2 separate regions of the Homo sapiens genome follow, and region 1 is linked to region 2. Evidence: promoter capture Hi-C in human tissues and cell types (Jung and others, 2019). All regions are on one chromosome and are shown on one strand. Each heading gives the region's core, a stretch centred on a gene start or on the middle of the fragment in contact. The rest is flanking DNA. Distances are from core to core; before and after follow the strand shown. Region 1 has its middle 210 kb from the start of MIR891A. Region 2 holds the start of SLITRK2 (SLIT and NTRK like family member 2).

What was found. Contacts are between HindIII fragments. The study calls those that stand out against the background at their distance.
Region 1: a contact is called between a fragment that was not itself captured here and the fragment with the promoter of SLITRK2 in region 2, in 1 of the 25 tissues and cell types used here (small bowel).

Annotation. Positions count from the first base shown.
Region 1 is chrX:146,236,124-146,241,270 of GRCh38, forward strand. No RefSeq gene overlaps it. Among named protein-coding and RNA genes, the nearest start is that of MIR891A, 210 kb to the left of the region's middle. The HindIII fragment of the contact is 3,426 bases long and covers 2,072-5,147 here.
Region 2 is chrX:145,816,011-145,820,610 of GRCh38, forward strand. SLITRK2 (SLIT and NTRK like family member 2) reads left to right here and starts at 1,819. Exons shown (of 5, transcript NM_032539.5): 1 at 1,819-2,016; 2 at 4,464-4,526. The HindIII fragment of the contact is 9,514 bases long and covers 1-4,600 here.

The DNA of each region.
Region 1 (5,147 bases), core at 2,535-5,034, 420 kb after region 2:
GAAAGAATGGGGGTTTGGAATTGGATTTGAGGTAACAGTAGGGAAGAGGTGATTTTTGGAGTGCACAGAATGCATCTGGGGAAGACTGATGTATCAGCATTAGGTAGGTACTTTACCTAGGAGGTGGGGAATTATGAAGAACTGTAGAACCAAAAGGCAATCCAGACCTATGTTGGCTGCTTTGCATTTTTACCTGGAGCCCCTAGTTAGCAAGATTCTTTGTGATGTCTCTTCCATCCACGTCTTCAGTTAAAACATACATGAACAATTAGACTTTATTGAGCACATACTATATGCCAAACTCCATACCAGGAGTCTTTGGCGTTCCCAAACATAATATGAAGAGACATATGTGAATATGACTTCTAATTGCAAGGCAGGCTATAACCTGGACTCTAATAAAGGACTAAGAGAAAAAAATAAACAGAGAGATTGGTTCTGAAAATGACTCTTTAGTAAGGTTTATTAAAGTAATTGATCCAAGGGTTGGGTATACAAAAGGAGTAAAAGTTAAGCAAAACAGACATTCCGAACAGCAGTGATAGTATAAAGAATGACACCAAGGTGAATGATGACATTACATTTGCAGGAAACAAACAAAGCTCTTTGAGTTCTGTTGGTGTCAAAAACAGGAAATAGTGGAGGATGAGTGAGTGCTGTCACGGAGGTAGAAGAGCCCAGGTCACACATGGTCTTTGTGCTAAATTAAGGGAGCATGAATTCTGTCCATGGACAACCAGGAGTTGCTGACAAGTGTAAGTGTCTGTCTTCAGTGGTGGGAGTGTTTATTATTTTTTACATTAATAAGTCTAACTTTGAAGCCTGCCATGTCCTGAATATAGCTACAAAAATACCCACTGTGCACGCTATTGTATTTACATACTAAAAAACAGTAGGCAGTGGTGAAGCAGCTAAGCCTCTTTAGATTTCAGATTTTAGATTTAGTTTTTTCATCTGTAAAATGAATATGATCTCTAAGGTTCCTCCCACCTTATACTTGTATATTCTGTTCTTAATAACTTGTCCAGACACAACTTAGATGATGATAGCCCTGGCATGAAAATGTATCTGAATTGGGTCTATACCATTAATGTGAAGTAGCTAAGCAATTAGCAGTTTAACTGGACAGCGTAGTTGAGGTTCCAAAGTAGATTTATTTAAATTGGGTGAACTATCTGGATAAGACTTGTCTACTGTCTGAAAGGCACACTATTTAGCTTATATTTTTTTAAAACCAGTGCTTTGGTTTTGCATTTGAAATCTGATGCTTATTTTGCATTGGTCCCTCTGCCTCAAGAAGCAGTGGCCTGTCAGGCTTACTGATATTTAAACATGTGGGAAATGCTCCCAGGTAACCCCAGTCGTTAAATCTGAAGGCTTGTTGGGTCCAGGGAGGCAGCCCAGGCAGGCAGCTGCATAATTGAGTACTGTTCTGGGTCTTTCATTTTATTTTAAAGCATATTTTTAACCACGTTCTTTCCAGTTAACCATCTCTCTGGTTATTATGAGGAGCTGATTTCTTCAGCACACAATAATTGCAAAATTATGACTCCATGGCTGTAGACATAAGTGTTGTCTTGCCTATCTGGCAAATCACGCAACAAGGGAATTTAGGATTTGGGAGGCACTTAGAAGTCATCTCATCTACAGCTCTGATTTTACAAATAAGGAAACCATTGGGCCAGTGTGCCTTTTTAAAATTCACAAGTATTGGTACTCACTTCTTTTTTAGTCTTATTCCTCCTCCTCATCTACAAGAATATTGGACTTTACTTTTCATAAAAATGTGATTTCCTACCAGTTTAATGCTCTTGGTGATAACTATGTAGTTTGGCTAGAGAATGGAATCTCGCGTCAGTGTGCTGGCAAGTTATTCGTTTAGCTATTCCTGAGGGGTCTCATTGCTGTTTCACAGTGATCTTCTTGAATGTAAGTTTGTTCAACAGTTATTCAGCTTCTTTTATTGGGCTGTTATTGTTCTCTCTGAGATGAGTAAGACATGTTCTCTACTTTGAAGAGCTCACTATTTGGGAAGGAGGGTGGACACTCTAAAATGTAACTGCAATTTAAAGTGGCAAGTATTTAAAAAGTGAAATAAATGTAGGGACAGAAATGAGGGAAGAATTAGTTCCACCTGAGATATGAGAGATTGACGGAGAGCGTGTGACATTTGAGTTGGCCCTGGGAGGAGAAGAGGGGTGTGGCAGGTACTTGAGTTTCAGAGGCTTGATGTGTGAGAAGACACTCTAGGCAGGGTAATGACTCAGTCACTCAAGCATACAAGAGCATGACACATTGAGAAAGTGCAAGAGCTATAGCTGAAGTTGAAGCTGTGTGGCTTCAAAGAGGGCTGGGTGGCAGCCCCAAAAATTCAAGTTGGAACAGAATTATTGAGAACCTTATATGGCAGCTGAAGGCATATGGGACTTGTCTTCTATTTATTATTCTATAGGTGGTAGCCATTGACGATGTGTGAGTGAGACACAGTTTAGAAAAACACCTTTTCAGCTTCAGTGTACAGGATGGATTGGATGCAGGGACATCCATGAAAAGACAACCATAAATACATAGTTATCCCTGACCACAGGAATGTAGCCTTACTTTTCTGTATGTGTCTGGCTTTAGTTGGCATTAAACCCTATCTAGAAGATACAGGATATCTATGTGAGTCTGCTTGGGCTGCCGTAACAAAACACCACATATTAGAGGGGTGGCCTAGACAACAGACATTTATTTTCTCTCATTTCTGGAGACTAGAATTCCCAGAAGGAGTCATTGGTTGATTCAGTTCCTAATAAGGCCTCTCTTCCTGGTTTATAGATGTTCTCACATGGCCTCTTCTTTGGTGCAGGTGCAGAGAAGGCGAGAGAGAGAGAGAGAGACAGAGAGAGAGAGAAAGAGAAAGAGAAAGAGAGAGGAGTGAAAGAAATCTCTAGTGTCCCTTCTTCTTCTTATAAAGACATGAGTTCTATTGTATTAACACCCCAGTCTTCTGATCTCATTTAACATAAACTATCTCCATAAAGATTCTATTTCCAAATACAGCCACATTGGGATTTGGGGCATCACATATGAGGTTTTTTTTGGAGGGGAGGGTGAGCACAATTCATTCCATAACAGCAGCTGAGCACCCTTTTTGTCCTGCATAGCAACAATGCACACAAAGTTGTAGAAAGAGCTTTAATGAATAGACACTCTACAATAACTATCATTTCTGCAGATTACAAATGAAATGCAAATATGCCATAGGAAGATTCTAGCTCTGTCCAGCGTCACTAACATGTTATCTTCTTGTTTTTCTTCTGGTAGAGGAAACAGAGACTCCTCCTGTGCCCAAGAGTTCAGAGCACTTGGATCACCTGCCATGCTAATATTTGATCCTGTACTTGGGAAATTTATCCCTCAGCTCTAGGTAACCATTACCTGGTCCTCTGAGCAATCTGTTCCTCTCAAATTCCACCATTGTCCTTCATGTTTTATTATCTTTTATCCTCTTCCCACAACAACCTCTGGACTTCTCCATTTCCCCAAGTCATAGTTTTTTTCCCTCTCCAATCTCCAGACCTTCCTATATGTTCTAAACCAACTTCTTTCATCTGAATGGTACACAGAGCAGGATCCTTCAGCCTCAGCTTTCTTTTTTGCAACCTGATATGGGCTGTGTACTGCGAATGCCGCATCATTTCCCGAACTTCACACCTGAGAGACTAACTGATTAAATGCTTGATGAATGGATGCTAGGAAACATGGCTAATGCCAGCAATGACTGGAACTAGAAATAGGAGTTGTTTATAGACTTTGTCTAGCTCTGTGTCAAATAGACATACTATAAAAATTTCAGCAGAATTTTAGAATTCTGGTTCTGCTTATCCAAAAAATTGTCTTGTGTATCATTTTAATACAAAATTATTCATTGGTCATTACTTACAGATAAGATGGTAATATATGTTGGACAAGCAGTGGTATTTTCACTTGGAAAATAAGATAAAAATACATATTTGTGAAAAAACATCAGGTACAAATGATAACATGCTGTATCTCCAGCCCTTATAACTAACAGTGGCCTGGATATTTGTAGAATTAATGCAAAGATGAGATGATATTTAACATTGATTAATTCAACAAAAATATATTTGTGTACACCTTAGTGTTAATGATTTGCTAAGGGCTGACGGGTCTAGCAGGGGTAAAACCTGCTCGCATGCCCATTTTCCTAGAATACCCCTCGTCTACACCAGGTACTTATGATCTTTGACGCTACAGTTTTGTGAGGGATCCACAGAGGAAGGCAGATAAATTAGCCTAATCCAGAGACAAACTTTGTAAAGAACCATATAGTCCATATTTTAGGCCTTTTGATCTCTCTAGTCTTTGTTGCAAACCCTCAACTCTGCCTTTGTAGCATGAAAAGAAAGCAATAGACAATATGTAAATGAGTGGGTATGGCCATGTTCCAATAAAACTGTATTTATTTATTTAATTAATTTATAATTTCAACTTTTCTTTTAGATTCAGAGGTTATATGTGCAGGTCTGTTACATGGGTATATTGTGTGATGCTGGCGTTTGGGGTATGACTTATCCCATCACCCAGGTAGTCAGCATAGTTTTTCAACCCTTGCCCTCCTCCCTCCCTATCCCCTTTAATAGTCCCCGGTGTTTATTGTTCCCATCGTTGTGTCCATGTATAATCAATATCTAGTTCCCACTTATAAGTGAGAACATGCAGTGTTTGGTCTTCTGTTTCTGCATTAATTCACTTAGGATAATGGCCTCCAGCTGCCTTCTTGTTGCTGCAAATGACATGATTTCATTCCTTTTTATTGCTGTGTAGTGTTCCATGATGTATATGTACCACGTTTTCTTAATCCATCCTCCACTGATGGACACCAAGGTGGATTCCATATCTTTACTATGGTTAACAGTGCTGTGATGAACACATGCATGCATGTGGCATTTTGTAAAATGACTTATTTTCCTTTGGTTATATACCCAGTAATGGGATTTCTGAGCAATAAAGCTTTATTGACAAAAACATTTAGGCTAGATTAGGCCCATGGCCTGTTTGCCAGTCTCTGGAATTAATATGGGAGCTACTGGGGTGAAAGTCAGGTCACCTTCATACACAAAAAAATTGTAGAATTTGGG
Region 2 (4,600 bases), core at 569-3,068:
TGTCTGAGTTTTTCAGCATGACTGTCTCATTATTTCTGTATTGGAATGGCCTCTTAGCTCTGTGTTTTGCAGTTGTTTATAACATCTACTAAAAGCGACATGAAAAGATGACACAGTCAGAAATACGGTAAAGACAGAAGTAACAGTATTAACTGACCTCATTTAGTTAATAATATGATGTGCTCAGTGCACTGCTTTTAGTCTGTAGCAAACAGCACATTGGATGTTTACACTAATACAGATATTGTAAAAAGAAGAGCAATGCTTCTGGATATATAACCGTACATACACTGCCCACGTGCTTATGTGAGAACTATGTTATTCCGAAGTTGCTTATCTGAATGGTAGGAAGATTTCAAAAAGGCTTTCTCAAGAATGAAATAAAAGGAACAGTAATGACCCTTACAACTCCGAAGATACGATTATAATTCTTCCGACTATTATTAAAGCAAACTCTGTACATCTTCATAATATAAGATTGCCAGTAGTTTTCTTTTTAAAAAGCCCAGCATAATCTCCTTAGAAAACCATTATGAAAGAAAGCCAAGAAGAGAGGACAGGAGAAGCACAAAAGATTCCCACGGGAAGGACAAGAAAAAGGTGGTTGTCAGTGCTGTGAGAACGAGTTGAAAGGCATGGGAAATATGGAAACAGACAAATTCCAATGCAGATCCACTAGCTGGAGAGGTAATTTTGCGTCTAATTTTGCACCTCTCTCCTCGCCTCCCCGTCTGCTCTCCACCATCACGCTTTTCGACAGTAAGAAGGATTTGGGGTTTTGCAGACTCTAGCGGGCATGAAAAGGATAGGGGGTGGCAACGACTTGAATTAATGACGTTCTCCTACAGGATGGAGGGGAAAATGACTTAGTGTCATCAAATGAACTCCCTACTCCTGGCATAAATTTATCAAACTGCAACTTTATCTCGAATACTCTGGAAGAGTAGAGGAGAGGCCCTAGAGAAAGCAAGTCTTGAGGGGAAACGCAATGCTCTTGGCAAAAACCGCACCTCCCTCTTGAACTACACTGACTCTTTTCACAGAGCGCCTTCCTTTAATAGAATCACAACCACCTGGACTACTAATAAGAGGAAGAAGAAAGGAGAAAAGGGAAGGGAGGATGGCAAAAATCACGCTCTAGAAGATCCAGGCAACGTCGTCGTGAAGAATAAAGGGAATCAAAATGGGCACTGGAACGCTGCTAAGGGCTTGCTTTGTTAACACACTTGCACAACTCAAGTTCAGCTCTATCTTATGTTGAAAGTCCTTGTTTACGATCCTCGTAGGAGGTTCTTAAATATCTGCCTGCGAACTCCCAAAGACTGGGCGCTTACTAGTTAGGGGAGGCAGCTGTCCCGGAGGGTGTCCAGCTCGGATGGCTGACTGCTCTTTCACTTGTCGTTAACTTCCACCCAGTAGTCTTAGTCTCCCCTTGGACATGGTACCGACCGTGTGCCATTCTTATTTCACTTGACCGAGCCCGAGCTGCAGCCCAGGGTGGAAGCCGCAAGGGCTGGGCAGAGTTCCAGGCAAGAGGGACCGAGAGGCGTGAGCAGTGCTCCGCAGCGCTTGTCAGAGAAATGGAGCAGCGGCTCCTTTGTGGGCTCTTACATCCCCGTCCTGGGTGCACAGCCCGGATATTTGATCTGTGGGGTGATTGATAAGTGAGGGAGAGGGGGGACGCGATCCCTCCCTCCCTCCTCCCTCCCTCCTCCCTCCTCACTCCCTCCTCCCTCCTCCCTCCCTCCTCCCTCCTCCCTCCCTTCTTCCCCTCTCCTCCCTCCCGCTTTACTTCCCTCCTCCCTCTCGCCTCCCTCCCTCCTTCCTGCAAGAAGCGTTGCCCGTTGGCTAGCTGCTCGGTGGGGATCTGCCTGCCCTGGGGGCGCCGCCCGCGCTCCCCGCGGTGCTCTCGCTCCTGGGCTGCGCCAGTCCGAGGCGGTGCCGGCTCCTTTGCCTCCCCGAGTCGCAGATGCTGCGGGCGCCTCCGGGAAAAGATCTGGGCGGCGCGCTCGCTCGGTAAGTTCTGAGCACTCAGGGACGCGGTGGCGACGCGGCCAGTGAGCCGGCTTTCCTCAGTCCGTTGCCTTTCCCGGCCACCTCTCCTTGCGAGGGGCACCAGCGTGGGGAGGCTGGGCGCCATCCGCGGAGGGCAGCTCGCTGGCGGCCGCCCTCTACCCTCAATCCCCACTGGAGATTCCTCACCCCGGGACCGTCCGCGCGGGCGTGGTCGGGCTCCGCGCCTCGCGCAGCGGGGTGGCACAGGCGGCCAGGGAGGGCCCACGCACCCGGCGCGAGCTAGAAGCCTCCGGTCGGCCTGCAGTGCCCAAGTCCCATGGCGAGGGCAGCCCGAGTGGCCGTCGCGGCTGTAGGTCCGCATGCCGGGCACCGCACCAGGCGTCTAGCAGGTAGGGGCAGGGAAGGTAGGGCTGCGCTGGCGGCCGGTGCCCAGTTACCGGCGATCGGGGACGCTCGGAGACACCTGGTCTCCCGGAAGCGCCCTTCGGAAATGGGATTCGACCCGGCTTGCGGGCGGCGGGTGTTTAGAAGAAGAGGCTGCGGGCAAGCAGTGCCCCCTCTCTGGTTCCCCGGACTCCTCTTAGCCCCCTCGTGGCCTGATGGGCGGCCGGGACGGAGGTGGGCTGTAAGCCCGCCGGCACCCACCGTGTCCTGTGGAAGGCTTGGAGACCTGAGCCAGGCTCTACTCGGTTAGATGCGAGTGAGACAGGCGACGGAGTTCGTCTTTAAGCCTCCCTTGCCTCAGCAAGGAGAGGGAGCGTTTTCCTTATTTTAATGACCGCCTTTCCCTCCCTTGGGGTCCCAGTTCACCCTGAACCTTTCCACAGCCTTAAAAGCCCGCTCTCCCTAGCGGAGTGCTGCGGCAGTTCTTCAGAAGACACGGGGCCAAATGAAACTTACTTAAAGTGGTTATCGCGTTTCAGGCTGATTTGTTCCTAGTAACTACGTTTTGGAAAGCAGCTGTGGACTCTCAAGGACAGGCAGGAACGAAGACCTCCTTAGGGTCCGAGTGTCGCTTCCCACAGTTAGATTACCCATGAATTTCCTTGATTCTGTAGGTCTCAAGAATCTCATGAGCCCCCAACCACCTCCACCTTTCTCTCTGAATCTCTCTCCTGTCTCTGAAATTCTTCGCAAAAATAATCTGTCCTCAAGGAATATTGAAAGCGTCATCAATGTCTTGAAGGAAATTACTGTATCTGAGAACCGAAACTAGTATTTGATGTTTCACTTTCAAATACATTTTTTTTTAATAAAAAGGATACCTTTAAGTAAAACACTACCACTGCTATTTACGTTTAAGTAGATTTTTAATTCATATTAAGCAGTAGTGTGCTTTTTGGAAAGATGATGGACTGGGACTCATAATCCCTGGGTTTTGTTTCTATTTGTAGTTTCTTGAGTAAGTCAGCACTTTCCCTGGTTAAGAAATGACCTCATCTGTAAAATGAACCTGACTTCTAAGGTCTTGTTCGGCTCTCACGTCTTTACTTCAGTTAAATATTGACATAATACATGTTTGTTGAATGAATGACTGAATGAATAAATCTTATTGCTCTAGGAACTATGTGCTTTTAACCTTTGGAAATACATAGAAACAAATGCCTCCTTTGCTAGGAAAGGGAGCTTAATTGTGCTCCCACTGCATCAGACTGCTTCCATCTAATGATGCAATTGCAATACAGGGTGGGAGGCCATCCACAGGGCTGTCCCTCTGCCTCAGAGCTCATCTCAAGTTTGCCCTTCTCTATGGAGAAGGAAAATTTGAGTCTCCAGAAGGAAAGTATTTTGCTAAACGCCAAGCAAGAATTAGAGGGTAAGGGGGCTTCTGATGCCTGGTCCAAGGCTCTTAGAAGAAGAAGAAGGAGAAAGGGAGAAAGCTCAAGAAAATAATGCACAGATCACCAGCTACAGGTGGCCCTAGTGCCTAAGTTTATAAACTACCCCCGCCCTTCCCGGAGAGAAAGGAGCTTGTATAAAGGGAACAATCCTAGAACCTAGGCTTAACAAGGAAGGAGAAGGGGAGAAGCAAGGGTCATTCTGTTCTCAAGTGGTTTGTTGTATCTGTGTGTTTATCTATTCCACATTTGGCCAGGCAGTGGGACTCCGGGAAAGCAAGCTGAAGTGTTTTGTGGGACAGGCACATCATTTGGTCAACTCCTTTTCCCTGGTTGATTCCCTCCTTTTCCTGACCCATCTCCCCCTTCCTACCAGAGGCAACCAAGGCCTTTCCAGGCAACAGCAGACATTATTTACCCCTTGCGAATTGATTCCACAATGGAAGACTCTTGGGTCCAAGGAGCTGTAAGATAATTAAGGAGAAAACAGATAATGAAGGCAAAAATCCAACACCTGGCCATTAGCAATGCTCTGGAAAGGCTATTTAAACCCGCATTGGATATCAGAGCTGGGAGGGCCCATACAGTCTACCTACCTGCCTTTTGCAGATGGACACAGGAAGATCCAGAAGCTAGTGGCACATCTAGCAACAGAGCCAGATCAGAACCCAGGTAAGCTCGGTCTCAGGCCAGGATTCCTTTTCCATCTCCTCTCTTTCTCAGGAGCCAGTCTTCCTGCACCAGCT